Linked DNA regions of Homo sapiens: region 1 is linked to region 2. Evidence: promoter capture Hi-C in human tissues and cell types (Jung and others, 2019). All regions are on one chromosome and are shown on one strand. Each heading gives the region's core, a stretch centred on a gene start or on the middle of the fragment in contact. The rest is flanking DNA. Distances are from core to core; before and after follow the strand shown.

What was found. The method cuts DNA at HindIII sites, captures the fragments that hold promoters and counts their contacts. A contact is called where the count stands out against the background at its distance.
Region 1: a fragment that was not itself captured here is called in contact with the fragment with the promoter of SNRPA1 in region 2 in 1 of the 25 tissues and cell types used here (spleen).

Annotation. Positions count from the first base shown.
Region 1 is chr15:100,660,183-100,665,627 of GRCh38, reverse strand. No RefSeq gene overlaps it. Among named protein-coding and RNA genes, the nearest start is that of ASB7, 60 kb to the right of the region's middle. The HindIII fragment of the contact is 6,198 bases long and covers 1-5,445 here.
Region 2 is chr15:101,292,520-101,298,039 of GRCh38, reverse strand. SNRPA1 (small nuclear ribonucleoprotein polypeptide A') reads left to right here and starts at 2,792. Exons shown (of 9, transcript NM_003090.4): 1 at 2,792-2,943; 2 at 4,868-5,015. The coding sequence starts at 2,862. SNRPA1-DT (SNRPA1 divergent transcript) reads right to left here and starts at 2,692. Exons shown (of 2, transcript NR_186319.1): 1 at 2,311-2,692. RefSeq lists enhancers at 2,444-2,533, 2,594-2,643, 3,207-3,838, 4,756-4,835 and a silencer at 2,874-3,063. The HindIII fragment of the contact is 7,299 bases long and covers 1,113-5,520 here.

The sequences.
Region 1 (5,445 bases), core at 1,111-3,610, 630 kb after region 2:
CAGGACTCACAGCGGCTCCAGCAAAGTGCTACAGGCCAGAGAGGGCTGGAAGCCACGGGAAGCACTTCAGATTTGGTGAGTTGGAAGGCATCAGTAGGTTTGAGAGGAGGAGTGACATGTCTGATCTGTGTTTTTAAAGGTTAAAGCCAAATGATCCTCTTGAAAGAGTAAACCAGAATATTATCAAGTCTATGAAGGCAGGGGTGATATCAAAAACACCGAACAACTTTCCAGACAAGGGCTCTGCCAGTCTCAGCTGACACTGGTCCTTGCATAGAAGCCAGGTGCCAGAGAGCCCACCTGCTGGGGCAAGGGCCAGTTCTGGAGTTCCTGGATCTGGGTGAGGTATCTAAGATCCAGGAGGTCTCAGGGAATGCCTGTTTGCCCATCTGTATGGAAGTAGTTAATATTTTAACAAAAGAATGGGTAAACACACGCACATATAAAGATAAAATGAATATACATAAGAGTCAGTCATGTCTCCATTTAACTGTCTAAAGTAGGTAGAATTGAGTTGGAAGTTTAAGAAAACCCAATCAAGGTCATCAATGAGCAGTTCGACTTCTTCCCCAACTGCCTTTATCCATAGACAATTCATCCATCCATCCATCCATGCATAGAATCCATAGTTTTTAAGTTACTGGCACATGCCGAATACTGTTTTAGTGGAGAGGGTTTATCAGTAAAGACAGGCAACATCATGGCTCTAATGGAGTTTATATTTTTATGTAAATGGACAATCAACAGATACACATCAAGCAAATTTCAGCCTGAAAAAATAAAAGCACTTGATGATAATAAGGTGATTGGGAAGTAGGTTAAATACTTTAGATTCCAGAAAAAAAAATCAGCAAGAGAAAGACAGTAGAATAGAACCTGTTCCTGTTGTATTTCTGGAGAAGCACCTGGCCATGTGGAAGGCTCTTTATGTTGGCTGGAAGAAAAATTGAATGTGGAATGTTATTTAGCCAACAACAAGAATTCATTATATCTGCACGTGGTAACATGAAAGGGTTTCTGCGAGTAGAAACATGTAAGCTGCAGAGAGATCATTTTTGTAAACTCCATGCAGATAGATGCACAGAGAAAGAGCTGGAAGAACCCACACTGCATGGTTAGCACTGGGAAGGAAGAACAGGCTTTCACGTTTTACCTAAGGTATTTGTTCACTGATTATGTTTTAAGGGTATATGCTCATTTTGAAATAAAAAAGGACTTTTCAAAAGATGCACCCAGTAATTATATGCATTGGGGAGGTGACTTAGAGCAGGAATACTGCTGAATAATTTGGTTCAAACATGAAACCTACACAAGACAAAGTCACTTGACAGAGGATGACTCTTCAGATGTTCAGGGAAACTCACGCACTCACTCACACTCGATGCATCGGCCGGGCTCCCTGATGCCCCCAACGCCTCTCCTATGTCCAAGGAAATACTTCTGCAGAGCACGTTAGAGTTTCCAATGCATGTGTGTTATCTCAGAGACAAAGGGCAGAAAGGGGAAAAAACAGAAAGTACAGTACGGTAAGTCTCAAATTTCAGCATCCTGTTGTCTCCATTGAAATAACTTGCCAGGAATTCTAGCGGTTAAATAGTCCAGATCTTTACTACAGAGGAAGATTAGAGACGCTGGCCCGATGAATTCAGTCCAGGCGAATTCTGTTACTGGTTTGCAACAAAAATAACTGGATGGGAAGAGACTGTCCTTGTGTTTTCTCACCCTAGAAAGACCCGCTTCATGTTGGGAGTATTAAAAGCCTGGAGACAAAGGCATCCTGTGCTGATTTTTGGACAGTATTAGAAAACTAACAAGGCGTGCCCTCCCTAAATTCTCCTGGGTAGTGTTGGTCCAAGGGCCTCACCATGGACAGCTGCACACAAAAAACCGGTGGGTGGGAAGCTGGCAGGAGAGGGTCCCAGGGTGAGGGCTCCCTGACCCCAGAGGCTCAGCCTGCGAATCAGGTGACTCAAACTCCTGAAAGACCCTGTAATTTTCAGTTAACTAAATGGGGGGAAAATCAAGATGCAAATCACCTTTCAAGTATTTAATTTAATTAGACAAGGAAAATGAGGCTTCTTGAAAATTCTTACTCGGTATTAACTTCTGCCACAAAGCAGCCGAGAGTAATTGGTAAAAGTGAAAAAGTGATTACCGAGGCTTAAGCTTATTTCTCACAGCTGGTGCACTTTTACAAAGTGAGTTTCATGGTGCTAAACCCTCCACCAGAGCAAGACGGGCCCTGGAGCATGGATTCCAGCCTTTTCATAAGCCACCTCTAATAAGCCATGGTGAGAGGGTGGGTGGAGAGGGGAGCGTGGTAACAGGCAACGGATGTGGGGCTCCTGGCTCCATCTGTTGCCCTGAGTTCCTGGTTTCTCCCCCTGCTGGCTTCTCTGTGATGTGAGGATCACAGTGGGTGGCAGCTGAAGGAGCCCTCGGCTCATGCCTCTAACCCTGGGCAAATGACGCAGCCAGAGTCATACCACCAGTTACCAGCACAGCCAGCCTTCAGTGTCAGCCTGCGTGAGGCCAGGTTAGGCTCTTCTGTCTATTTAGCAAGCTAATCAGGAAGAAAATGGAGCCTGGTCTCATGAGCGCACTGCAGAAGCTGTTCATCTCGAATTCTTCGGCAGCCTCGCTTTCGTGTTACTGCATTAATAATTTTTGTTTATCTTCTTTATTCTCCAGGGGTCTAAACATTTGGAAGGTGGGTTCCTGATCCCATTCCTCCTCCAGGACGGACTACCGTGCATCAGATATAGGAAGCATTGGACATAACAGTTGAAAGAAAGAAAGAAAGGAATCTCTCCATGTCAATAACCAACCTAACTGATGAACTTTAGGAGTCTGTTTTTTCCACCAAAACAGAATAAAACTTCTAAGTAAGGGGTCAACACTTGCAATGCACCAACCTCTGTGCTGAAACTCAAAAACTGAGGAAAAAATAGACTCAGCCCACAAAAAACAATTGAGTGGGTAAGAAGACAATTTTCCTTTTTCATTTTTGAAAAAAAAATTAAAATGAAGGCTCAGAGAAAAATAACACAGTCATGTACTTACTTCCAAAACATGTACATTTCATCAAACTCACTTTCTCCCTCCCAACCCAAAACAGTCAAATAAAATCAATATCATGGCAAGCCAGGACTTGTCTGGGGTCCTGAACCAGTAGGCCAGGGATCTAGCAGCATTTCCCCCTAGAAAAATATTGTTAGGCAAGTTAATAGATATAGAGGTTGGAAAATATGACCATTGAAATCTCTGTGAGGATTCAAAGATCCTAAATATTTTGTTAAGCACATTTGCCTGATGAAAGATTCCTGAACCCCCTCTCCCTTACATCTTGACAGGCTGTGTTCTCATTAAGAGGGGCTACAAAACTGGCCAGGCTTTGGAGCAGGGCAGGCTGGACCCAGCCCTGGGCTGTCTGTAGTAGATGACTGTATTTTGAAGAGAAACTTCGGATGTCCTTTTTCCTTCAGAGTGGTCTGTTTTTCTACTTTCAAAGGGGAATATGTCAAATCCATCAAATTGTATACATTAAATATGTGTGATTTTTTGTATAACACTTATATCTCAAAAAAGCTGTTAACCAAAAATGAGATGGAGTCTCGCCCTTTACACAGGCTGGCGTGCCGTGGTGCGATCTCAGCTCACTGCAACCTTCACCTTCCAGGTTCAAGTGATTCTCCTGCCTCAGCCTCCTGAGTAGCTGGGACTATAGGTGCCGGCCACCACACCTGGATGATTTTTTAAAATTTGTTAGCAGAAATGGCATTTCACCATGTTAGCCAGGCGGGTCTCGAACTCCTGACCTCAAGCAATCCGCCTGCCTTGGCCTCCCAAAGTGCTGGGATTACAGGTGTGAGCCACCATGCCTGGCAGACCACCTCTGTTTTAGTAGGCAGATTCCATGCAGAGATGACTCCATGTCGGTGGTCCCACCAGTGGCTCCAGGACCCACAGTAGCAGCAGCATCTGATGTGAGGCTATGCTCACCTCCTGGCTGATTTATTTTTCTTAATGCCCCCGCAAGAAGCTCAGCTGCATTGAGTGGCTGGGAAAGGATTCGTAGGTGCCATGGTTTCTTTTACTGTTCAGGGGTTACGGGGTGGGTTGGTCAGGCTGCAGCCAGCTGGAGCTGGCAAGGTGTTTTCTATCTGCGATCGGCAATTGGGGCAATGCTACCCATGCTTCTTAGAGACACTTCATTGGCAGGCCGCCTCACGGGCAGTGCCAAGGCACATGCTGGCTGAGGCAGCTAGAGTCATCGTCTCTCCCACCCTGGAGCAGGCTAGGGCTGTCATTATTCACGTTTGGCACACATTATTATTTACAAGCCACCAAATGAGACTGAAGAACATTAACAGCAGGATAACAGAACTACAGGCTACTGGTTTTGTCTGTGCCCAACTGAAATTAAGTAGTTGCAAAAGATAATTGGAGACATGAAGGTCTCGATGTCGAGCCAGCTTGTAGTGTAGCCGGAGAGATTTGTAGTCTTTGTTCACATAACACATGCAGAACTATTCAAGGCCGGCCCATAAAATACAAAGACTCAGTTTCACGTGTGGGTTCTGAAAAATCACTGCATCTTTACTTACATCTCATGGATAAGCAGATAGGTGGCTTTTCTAACATCTCATAGTGACTGTAGGATTTCTTTCTTTTTCTTTTTTTACCTTGTCCTTTCTTTGCTACAAAGAGTCCAAATACCCTCACACAGTGGTTCTAAGTTGGGTCCACAGACCAACAGCACACACCTCACAGTCCAAATACCCTCACACAGTGGTTCTAAGTTGGGTCCACAGACCAACAGCACACACCTCACCTGGGTGCTTGTTAGACACGGAGATTATTATTTTTTATTTTTTGAGACGGAGCCTCACTTTGTCACCCAGCCTGGAGTGCCGTGGCACGATCTTGGTTCACTGCAACCTCCGCCTCCCGGGCTCAGGCAATTCTTGTGGCTCAGCCTCCTGAGTAGCTGGGACTACAAGCACATGCCACCACGCCTGGCTAATTTTTTTTTTTTTTTCTGCTTAGTAGAGATGGAGCTTCATCATGTTGGCCAAGTTGGTCTTGAACTCCTGACCTCAGGTGATCTGCCTGCCTCAGCCTCCCAAAGTGCTGGGATTACAGGCATGAGCCGCCATGCCCGGATAGACGTGGAGATTCTTAAGCCCCACCTGAGAACCGCTGCATCTGAAATTCTGGGGGTAGGACCCGCACTATTTTAAAAAGCGCTCCAGTGGGTACAGATGCTTGCTCACCTGCACTAATGCAGAGAGTACCGTAATTCCACACCCCAGGGATGGCACCGTAATTCCACACCCCAGGGATGGCACCGTAATTCCACACCCCAGGGATGGCACCGTAATTCTACACCCCAGGGATGGCACCGTAATTCCACACCCCAGGGATGGCGTACGTTTTGAATCT
Region 2 (5,520 bases), core at 1,543-4,042:
GTATAGGGAACGGTTCATAAATCAGACTGTATTAAAATGAAGAACCTCTATTCATCAAAAGATACCATTAAGAGAGTGAAAACCCAAGCCACAGGGGGAAGATACTCACTACAGACATAGCTCACAAGGTTCCTATTGAAAAAATATAAAGAGCTCCTACAAATCAGTTTAAAAATAAAGCCCAATAGAAAAATGGGCAAAACACCTAAGCAGACACTTCATTAAAGAGGTTATCCAAACAAACATAAATATATTTTTTAAAGTTCTCAATTGTGTTAGTAATTAGGGAAATACAGTTAAAACCACAATTTCATACCATTACCTATCTACCAGAATGGCTAAGATTAAAAAGACAATACTAAACGTTAGCAAGGAGTTTAAGTTGGCAACCACTTTGGAAAACTATGTCCTACTTAAGCTGAACATAAGTAAGCCCTATGACCCAGTAATTCCATCCCTGGGAGTATATCAGTATATGTGTTCACATAAAGATATATATTATTGAGTTTGTAGGTACACTATTTATAATATAAAAGAGTGAAAATTACCCAAATGTTCATCAACAGCAGAATGGATAAGTAAATTGTAAAACATCCACAATGAAATACCATATTACAGTGAGAATAGATTAACTACATCTACACACAAACATAATGTTTAGCAAAAAATATGCAAGGTACTTCATTTGCATAAATACAAAACTAGATAAAGCAAATCTATACAAGATGGCAGGATAATGGTTACCCTTGGGGCAAGGGTGGTGACTAGATGAAGACAGGAGGAGGGCTTCTGGAATGTGGCAATGTCCTGTTCTTACGAGGATGCTAGTTGGTTGGGTGTGTTCAGTTTGCATTCTTCTATATGTATATCATACTTCAATAAAAGTTCAAGGAGAATCATCTCCGGGTGGATTGCAGAACTAAATGTGAAAAGCAAAACAATCGTCTAGTAGACCACATAGGAAAATATGATGGGGGTAAGGGAAGATTTCCTAAGGCACATGCACATGCACACACACCCAATCCACTAACCTAAAGAAAATAATTGAACTACATAAAACTTGGAAACTTCTCAGCCAGGCGAGGCGGCTCACGCCTGTAATCCCAGCACTGTGGGAGTCTGAGGCAGGTGGATCACTTGAGCTCAGGAGTTGGAGACCAGCCTGGGCCACATATCAAAACCTTGTCTCTACAAAAAATACAAAAGTTAGCCAGGCCTGTTGACCTGTGCCTATAGTCCCGGCTATTTGGGAGGCTGAGGTGGGAGGATCTCTTGAGCCTGAGAGGTCAAGGCTGCAGTGAGTCCTGATGGCACCACTGCACTCCGGCCTAGGTGACAGAGTGAGACCCTGTCTAAAAAAAAAAAAAAAAAAAAAAAAAAAAAATCTAATCATCAACACCATTAAGAGTGAAAAGGCAAGCCACAGAGTGTGTTCATATCCCTAATATATAAAGAAATTCCACAAATCAATAAGAAAAAAGGCAGACAACTCCATAAGGAAAAAAAAAAAATGAGCCAGGGACTCGAAAGAACACTTAACCAAGGAAGCTATCAGAATGGGCACCATACACATGAGAAGGTTCTCAGCTTCATTAGTTATTAGAGAAAAGCAAAGCAAAGCAGTAGTGCAATACCACCACACACCCATCAGAATAGCTGAAGTTATAGAGTTAAAATGCCAAGAAGGCTGAAGCTGGAAGCCATGAAAACCCTTACACACCGCTGGAGTGTGTATATTATTTCAGCCTCTTAGCATAACTGTTGGGCATTACTTATTGATGATAGATATACCCTATGTCCCAGCAGTCCCACTCCAGGACAAACTCATGCAAACGTGCATCAGAACCACGTACCAGAAAATTCATAGTAGCATTACTCAGAATAGCCCTAACTGAAAACAACTTTGATGTCTATCAACAGCAGAATAAGTAATTTATGGTATAATATATACAATGGAATTCTCTTCAGCAGCAAAAGCAAACAAACCATCTCTGTATGCAACCTGGATGGACTCCAGACATAATATAGACTCCATGAAACTAGGCCAAAAAAAAAAGCATACTGCATGATTCTATTTATAGCAAAAGCAAGCAAACCGAATTTGTAGTGTTGAGTTCGCGGTTGCCTTTTGGGAAAGAGGGAGGCTTTCAGAATAGCGGTGTTTTGGATCCCGGTGTCGGCTACGCAGCTGTGTTCACTCTGGTCATTAATCACTGTAAATTCCTGATATGCACACTTTTATGTATATCACATTTCATACATATGAATATTCAGAAGTCTAAAGGTCACAAGCTTAACCGCAAACCCTACCGTGCCCGAGGCCGGGCTGGACTTGCGGGGCGGTGGGGTTGTCCCGGCGACCTGCCCCAGGCGGGCCACCTAGCCCGGGATCTCACACTGTAGCCCGGAGCCAAGGCCCAGGCCCGGGGCGGGCACCTGAACTGCTGGACCCTTCACTGAACCCCACGGGTTCCCGCGACGGCTGGTGGAGGGAGGACAGTCACCGCTTCCCCTCCCACCTCGAGGTGCGCTAATGCATGAGAAAGTTCCCCTCGGGTGTTTCCACATTCGCCTTAACTTTTAAACACCAACGTCTGGAATCAGGGGTCCTCCAGACTCCGAAACACACCCTAGGAAACAACCCAGAACGAGACACATCCCCTGTGCGCGCGCCACGACTTCCGGCAAGAACGCCCCCGGAGGCGTGGCTCTTCGATTGCTTCGGCCTGGCGGTCGAGCTGCGCGCGCACTCGGCGGCTGCGATTGGTGCTGCCTGGCGGCGGGGCGCGGGGCACGCTGGGACGTCTCGCTGGCGGGAGGCCACGGGCTTTCCACAGCGCGGGGGAACGGGAGGCTGCAGGATGGTCAAGCTGACGGCGGAGCTGATCGAGCAGGCGGCGCAGTACACCAACGCGGTGCGCGACCGGGAGCTGGACCTCCGGGGTGAGTCCGGGGGCGTGGGCGGCCAGTCCCCAGGCGGCACCGAGCCGCCTTATTTTCCGCGCTTTGCCGCGTGCACCGAAGGCCGGAGCTTGGCCCGCGGGCCGGTTGTCTGGGCTCCGACCGGGCTGCGCAGGGAACGCCGGGCCTGATTCTTGCCGTTGTTGCCAGATGAGCATCCGGTTAAGCTCCTGGGAGCCTTCTGTTAGCGCCGTGCCTCTTGACAGGCACGGGTGACTTCATTACTTCCTGGTGCGTCCTCGTGGGGCCCTGTTAGGCCTTGCTTGGCTGTTTCGCCGCTGGCTGTTTGAGGGCCCGGAAGAGCGGCTCATTAATGGTTGTAACGCAAGTGCAGGGCGCGGGATTGGTTCTTAATACTTGCCGCCAGATGATATTTTGAGCGTAGATAGGATATGTGTTCATTATTCCTAATGTGAGGGAGGAAACTAAGTCCCCGAACAACCGCGATTGTTTCCTCCAGTATTTTCTACTTAGTAGCTTTAATTGTCTGGCGTTTCCCCTATATGAAGACGTTTTAAAAATTGAACTGTGTCACCCAGGCTTGCACCGCCGGGTGCTGTGTGTAAGTTGTGGAAGCGCTCGCAATTATTCAGATTCCTGTACTATTTCAACCTTAGCAAGACTTGGTAAGATACTGGGAGGGCAGCTAGCTAGTTGGCATTTCAGGAGACGGCTTTAAAAGGGACGTGATAGAGCAACTTCTCTGAGGATAAGACCATGCTGTCGTAGCCTGAGATTTGTTCCCATGGGGACCTATGGCCTCGGAGCAGCATCGCTGCGGGATCTGCTTAGATTTCTTGCCGACCTTTGGGAAATCCCACTGTTTTGTGTTGTGTTGTGTTGAGATGGAGTCTCGCTCTTTCCGCCCCAGCTGGAGCGCAGTGGCGTGATCTCGGCTCACTGCAACCGCCGCCTCCCCGGTTCAGGTGATTCCTGTGTCTCAAGCCTCCCGAGTAGCTGGGAATACAGGCATGCGCCACCACGCCCGGCTAATTTTTTGTATTTTTAGTAAAGACATGGTTTCTCCATGTTGGTCAGGCTGGTCTCGAACTCCCGACCTCAGGTGATCCGCCCGCCTTGGTCTCCCGAAGTGCTGGGATTACAGGCTTGAGCCACTGCGCCCGGCCCAACTCACCACTTTTGATGATCTCTGCCATTTCTCTTTATGGAGCATGTGCAGTGTTGAGAATACGTATTTTGATGCAGTACGTGTAGTACAGCTCTGAATTGTGTCCTTTAACTTTGGGTAAGTTCTTTTTTTAGTAGACCTTGCTTCTTCGGAATATTTCTTTTCTTATAGTGCCTAACACAATAATTATGCCCAAATTAGACAAATTAACATTTGAGTGTTCACAGATTTATTACTGTATTTAAACCATTGATCTTCAATTCTGAATTGGAGCTGGGGGAGGGGAGGGAGAACTGTCGTGATATGTTGAGGCTGTTCTGATGGGTTCTAAGAATCTGGCCTGTGGAGATGCAAGAGTGGAGAACTGTCGTCCACAATGTTTGAACGCCGTTTGGGCACTGAGACTAAGCAGCTCCAAGTGTAAACTCCTGTTGTGCCGATTCCGCTTAACTAGCCCAAACGACTTAGGACAGTGTGAGGCACCTTGTAAATGTTCTTATAAATGTTAGCTGCCTATATCAGCCATTGTTATTGTCCTTGTCCTTGTTGTCATCAGATTCTAAGCTTCATGGCACTGGGGACTTGAGACTCGTTCAGCGTTTTCTCTCTAGTATCTTAAACAGCGGCAAGTCATGCGTGACCCGACATAGGTGCTAGGTAATACTTCCTGAATAAATCAAAGCCTGGAGTCAGATACTATGAAATACAGCTAATGCTTTAAGGGGCAACTGTTTAGTTATATTAATACCTCTTGTGTTTTTTTCCTCCATTTTATAGGGTATAAAATTCCCGTCATTGAAAATCTAGGTGCTACGTTAGACCAGTTTGATGCTATTGATTTTTCTGACAATGAGATCAGGAAACTGGATGGTTTTCCTTTGTTGAGAAGACTGAAAACATTGTTAGTGAACAACAACAGAATATGGTACGTGTCTGTAGGGGAAAGTAATTTTTTCCCCTAGAGTAAATGTTGCAGTGTTTCCTGAAGAAGTTGTAGCACGTGCTACTGGTTAAACCTACATGTTTCTTTTTCTTTTTCTTTTTCTTTTTTATTTATATTTTGAAAAAATATTTTTTCCATAATGGAAGCCACATTCAATACATGTTTTTTCTTAAAATGAGAAATGAACTTCACTTTTCCTATAGAGATCCAGAGATTAACCTGGCATTAGTCTAGTCTTACTTGTATCTGTTCAGAAATCATGTATTTTTATTTTCATGGTTAAGTTTCTAAATAAAAACATGTTGCTTTGTATACATTTTGGCTTCTAAAACAATTATCAAAGGGGTCATAGTAAAAGGATATATAAAGGTAACAATTATACTTTTGACTGAGCGTCTCTGCTTTTTTTTTTTTTTAACTGCAACTAATTTCTAGACTGTTACTTATTGAAATTGAGATCTTTTTTGACCCTGCCTTCATCAGCTCT